Linked DNA regions of Homo sapiens: region 1 is linked to region 2. Evidence: promoter capture Hi-C in human tissues and cell types (Jung and others, 2019). All regions are on one chromosome and are shown on one strand. The core of a region is centred on a gene start or on the middle of the fragment in contact, and the rest is flanking DNA. Distances in the headings are between cores, read along the strand shown. Region 1 has its middle 23 kb from the start of PLCE1. Region 2 holds the start of TBC1D12 (TBC1 domain family member 12).

The links. The method cuts DNA at HindIII sites, captures the fragments that hold promoters and counts their contacts. A contact is called where the count stands out against the background at its distance.
Region 1: a contact is called between a fragment that was not itself captured here and the fragment with the promoter of TBC1D12 in region 2, in 1 of the 25 tissues and cell types used here (mesendoderm cells).

Annotation. Positions count from the first base shown.
Region 1 is chr10:93,969,520-93,972,412 of GRCh38, reverse strand. No RefSeq gene overlaps it. Among named protein-coding and RNA genes, the nearest start is that of PLCE1, 23 kb to the left of the region's middle. The HindIII fragment of the contact is 6,988 bases long and covers 1-2,893 here.
Region 2 is chr10:94,401,265-94,403,964 of GRCh38, reverse strand. It overlaps TBC1D12 (TBC1 domain family member 12), which reads right to left and starts at 1,424. Exons shown (of 13, transcript NM_015188.2): 1 at 381-1,424. The coding sequence starts at 1,351. RefSeq lists enhancers at 1-216, 1,517-1,676 and silencers at 297-626, 697-1,186. The HindIII fragment of the contact is 13,183 bases long and covers 1-2,700 here.

The DNA.
Region 1 (2,893 bases), core at 384-2,883, 430 kb after region 2:
GCATAGGGAGAAAAAGGGAAACAAAACTTGTGGGTTTAAAATTTTTTTTAAGTGCGCTGTAAGGAAGGAGAGAATGAAATGGAAAAGAAGGAATAGGGGACAGTGCAGCAGATTAAGGATGGCCACAAATTCTTTGATATCTTCCCATCAAAATGTGGGGTCTATGTTCCTGGCCCTTGAATATAGGTAGATTCTGCGACTGCTTTCACTAACAGGATACAGTGGAAGTGACACCGCCGGTTTTCAGGTTAGAGGCTTAAGAAAAAGAGAGCTTCTACTTCTTGTCTCTTTGAACACTTGCTCTTGGAGCCCTGAAATATCATGTAAGAAGCAATGAGGGTGAAGTTCCCATGCTGGGAGGAAGCTTAAGATAGTTGTGTGGAGAAGCTATTCCCTGTCTGTGGATTCAACCAACCTTGGATTGAAAATATTTGAGGAAAAAGGAAAAATACAAATTAAAAAAAAAACAGTGTAACAATTATTTACATAGTATTAGGTATTATTAGTAATATAGAGAGGATTTAAAGTATAAGGAAGGATGCATATAGGTTACATGCAAATACTTTGCCATTTTTTTTTTTTCTTTTAAAAGAAAAGTTTATTACAGTTTCCAAGAGAAAGGGGCATGTCACACCATGAGGGGCCACACAGGGAAGAACGAGGTCAATCAGGAAGCAGCAGAATGAGGAAAAAGCCTGGGCAAAACCTTTACTGTTGTTTTCACAGAAGGCATGGGTGAAACAGAGTAAGCAGCTGAGCAGGCTGAGGATTGGATAGTTTCTTTTTTTTTTTTTTTTTTTTTATTATTGATCATTCTTGGGTGTTTCTCGCAGAGGGGGATTTGGCAGGGTCATAGGACAATAGTGGAGGGAAGGTCAGCAGATAAACAAGTGAACAAAGGTCTCTGGTTTTCCTAGGCAGAGGACCCTGCGGCCTTCCGCAGTGTTTGTGTCCCGGGGTACTTGAGATTAGGGAGTGGTGATGACTTTTAACGAGCATGCTGCCTTCAAGCATCTGTTTAACAAAGCACATCTTGCACCGCCCTTAATCCATTTAACCCTGAGTGGACACAGCACATGTTTCAGAGAGCACAGGGTTGGGGGTAAGGTCACAGATCAACAGGATCCCAAGGCAGAATAATTTTTCTTAGTACAGAACAAAATGAGAAGTCTCCCATGTCTACCTCTTTCTACACAGACAGGGCAACCATCCAACCTCTCAATCTTTTCCCCACCTTTCCCCCCTTTCTATTCCACAAAACCGCCATTGTCATCATGGCCCGTTCTCAATGAGCTGCTGGGCACACCTCCCAGACGGGGTGGCGGCCGGGCAGAGGGGCTCCTCACTTCCCAGTAGGGGCAGCCGGGCAGAGGCGCCCCTCACCTACCCGACGGGGCGGCTGGCCGGGCGGGGGGCTGACCCCCCCACCTCCCTCCCGGACGGGGTGGCTGGCTGACCCCCCCACCTCCCCCCCGGACGGGGTGGCTGCCGGGCGGAGACGCTCCTCACTTCCCAGACGGGGTGGCTGCCGGGCGGAGGGGCTCCTCACTTCTCTGACGGGGCGGCTGCCGGGTGGAGGGTCTCCTCACTTCTCAGACGGGGCGGTTGCCAGGCGGAGGGTCTCCTCACTTCTCAGACGGGGCGGCCGGGCAGAGACGCTCCTCACCTCCCAGATGGGGTCGTGGCCGGGTGGAGGCGCTCCTCACATCCCAGACGGGGTGGCGGGGCAGAGGTGCTCCCCACATCTCAGACGATGGGCGGCCCGGGCAGAGACGCTCCTCACTTCCTAGATGGGATGGCGGTCGGGAAGAGGCGCTCCTCACTTCCTGTATGGGATGGCGGCCGGGCAGAGACGCTCCTCATTTTCCAGACTGGGCAGCCAGGCAGAGGGGCTCCTCACATCCCAGGCGATGGGCGACTAGGCAGAGACGCTCCTCACTTCCCAGACGGGGTGGCGGCCGGGCAGAGGCTGCAATCTCGGCACTTTGGGGGGCCAAGGCAGGCGGCTGGGAGGTGGAGGTTGTAGCCAGCCGAGATCACGCCACTGCACTCCAGCCTGGGCACCAATGAGCGCTGAGTGAACCAGACTCCGTCTGCAATCCCGGCACCTCGGGAGGCCGAGGCTGGCGGATCACTCGCAGTTAGGAGCTGGAGACCAGCCCGGCCAACACAGCGAAACCCCGTCTCCACCAAAAAAATACGAAAACCGGTCAGGCGTGGCGGCGCGCGCCTGCAATCGCAGGCACTCGGCAGGCTGAGGCAGGAGAATCAGGCAGGGAGGTTGCAGTGAGCCGAGATGGCGGCAGTACAGTCCAGCTTCGGCTCGGCATCAGAGGGAGACCGTGGAAAGAGAGGGAGAGGGAGACCGTGGGGAGAGGGAGAGGGAGAGGGAGACGGAGAGGGAGAGGGAGAGGGAGAGGGAGAGGGAGAAGGAGAAGGAGAAGGAGAAGGAGAAGGAGAAGTATCACTCTTAAAAGCAGGATCACTTTGCCATTTTTTTTGTTTATTTGAGATGGAGTCTCACTCTGTTGCCCAGGCTGGAGTGCAATGGCACGATCTCGGCTCACTGCAACCTCCGCCTCCCGGGTTAAAGCGATTCTTCAGCTTCAGCCTCCCGAGCAGCTGGGATTACAGGCATGCACCACCACACCCAGCTAATTTTTGTATTTTTGTAAGAGAAGGGGTTTCACCATGTTGGCCAGGCTGGTATACTATGCCATTTTATATAATCAGTGACTTGAGTATCCTCAGAATTTGATATCCATGGGGGTCCTGGAACAAATCCCCTGTGGATACTGAGGGATGATGATATAGAGACAGAAAGAGAGAGATACCTAACAGCACCCAGCTCTTTAGCATTCCAGCACTCAGAGAATCCCAGCTGCGACTTCAG
Region 2 (2,700 bases), core at 175-2,674:
AAATTTTTAAAAATTGGAGACGGAGATGGTTATCTGCTTTTCCAGAAAAGGCAACTGCATATGTGGCACTAGACAGCTGGCCCAACCTGACTGCTCAGAAGCCAGGTATGAATGGCAGGTACAGCCTCCCGCGGACAAGGCAACAGAAAGACTCGCTGTCCACAGAGCTCACAACTTCTCCTATAGAAACACAAAGCCGACCCAGTTCCTCTTCCTCCAGTGACAAATCAAAGCTAAGTCCTGACGCGTGTGGGGCTGGCACGGAAGCGGCCGACCAAGCTCTCCGCTCCGGCTCCGGCTCCGGCTCCGACTCCCACCAAGACCCCGGCTCCGGCCCCGGCCCCGGACCCGCCCCGAGTCCCATGCAGCCTGCGCTGTACCTGGTGAAGAAGTCCGCGAAGCCGCCACTCCGTCGAGCCCGGGCCGAAGCCCCCGCAGGACCCTGCTCCGCGGCGGGCAAGGGCACCGGCGGCCCCGCCGGGGGCAGGTGATCGCGGGCGCTCTGACCGCGGCTCACCTGGAACGTGTTGCGAGAGTTGAAGTGAATGTCAGAAAAGCCCAGGCGCGGCTCCGCACCCCCATTAGTCCTCTCGGCCGAGGTGGCAGGGGGCGCGCCCTCCTCGGGACCCCCGGCGCCGACTCCCCGCTGCTCTGAGTCCTCGCTACTGCTGCAGCTGCTGGCGGGGCTGTCCCCCGAGTCGCTGCCCGCGCCCTCGGGCTCCTGGGCGTCCGCGGCCACCAGGCAGCAGCTCCGCAGCGGGTCCTCAAGCGGAGAGGCCCAATCGGACGGGCTTCCCGCGCCGTCCGCGTCCTCGTCGCCAGGCCCCTCCAGGCGAAGGCGGCCGTAGGGGCGGCGGCGGCGCGACTCCCGGCCGCCGGCGCGCGCCAGCCCGCGAGCCTCTTCCAGATCGCGACAGTCCCGGCCCGGCAGAAAACCCGAGTCGCCGTTGGTCATGCCTTCGTGCCGCGGCGCGCGGCCATCAGCCACCTCCGCGCCGCGGTGTTTGGAGCCCGAGCCCAGCAGGCAGGCGTCCGATCGTGGGGCTGCCGAGGGCGGCGGGGCGCCGGCCTGGCCAGCGGGGAGCGGACAGTAGCAGAGCCCCGGCTCCAGCTGCTCCCCGGCCGCCGCGAGGTAACGCTGAAGGAGCTGCCGAGGCGGCGTCTCCTCCTCCTCGTCAGCCTCCTCCTCCTCGTCAGCCTCCTCCGGCGGCTCCACAGCGCCGACGCCTCCGCCAAAGCCGCCCGTGGCCCGGATTACCTTCCTGTCCTGGCCCACGGGGTCCGGCGCAGGCACCGGGAGCAACTTGGGGTTTCTTCCCGAGCAGGCTCCGGCATCCTCCGGACCCACCATCTGGGGGTGGGTGGCGGCCGCCCCAGGAGGCAAAGAAGGACTACAGGCGCAGGCTTGGCCAGAGAACAGCTCTGGGTGCTGGGGCCGCGGCGACAGCCGCCGCAACGTTCCCAGACCCACCCCTCCCACCCGCTGGGTCGGACAGTTGCTTGAGGGCGGGCACGCGCCAGGACTCGCGCACGCGCAAAAGTCGGACCGGTCAAGCCCCGACCTGGAGATTCCCCGAACCATAGAGACGGTAGCTAGAGAGACGCAGGCTGCCAATCTAGGATCCGCCATCTGGATGGTGGAAGCTGGTTGGCCCGCTCTAAGCGTGACAGTTCTTACCGAAGCGCGGGTATTGCTCGCTTAGCAAAAATTCACTTGATGTATTTCATTTATGGTAGTAAAATACTCCCATATTTGGGAGGTGTTAGCGTGGGTAAGTCCTTCCAGCTCTAATTGGTCACCAGTCGACTTTACGATTTTTACATCCTTCTCCGGCATCATTGCCACAGTTCAGGGCTTCATCACTTCATCCAGGAGGGTCAACACCCTCCCTTCTTCACTTCATCTAACACAAAAGAAAGATATCCTAAGTTATCTTGCTCACCTAGCACCATGTTTCATCACAGTCCTCTGTTTAAAAGATTATCACCGGCCGGGCGCGGTGGCTCACGCCTGTAATCCCAGCACTTTGGGAGGCCGAGGCGGGTGGATCACAAGGTCAGGAGATGGAGACCATCCTGGCTAACACGGTGAAACCCTGTCTCTACTAAAAATACAAAAAAATTAGCTGGGCATGGTGGCGGGCGCTTGTAGTCCCAGCTACTCGGGAGGCTGAGGCAGGAGAATGGCGTGAACCCGGGAGGCGGAGCTTGCAGTGAACCGAGATCGCGCCACTGCACTCCAGCCTGGGCGACAGAGCGAGACTCCGTCTCAAACAAGAAAAAAAGATTATCACCTAAGGAGGGAGAGGAAGTGGTCAGGCAGAGAGGAGCTATTGAAATAATTCCAGCACTCTGCGATAGTGGATTAAAATGGGATGATTGACCATTGAGTGGAAATGAAGTATATTTAAAGTAAAAGACGAAAGACTTGATAACTGATCAGAAGTGACAGAAGAGAGAGTAACCAATGATTACTACAAAGATATGAGACTGAAACTGATATGGTTTGAAGAAATAGAAAAGTGGATAGGAAAAAAACGATTAATAGGGGAAATACATCTGGTAAAGTAAACGACTGAAAATATCCAGCATATAGAGTTCTAAAACTTGAGTTGGCTGGGCGCAGTGGCTCACGCCTATAATCCCAACACGTTGGGAGGCCGAGGCAGGTGGATCACCTGAGGTCAGGAGTTCGAGACC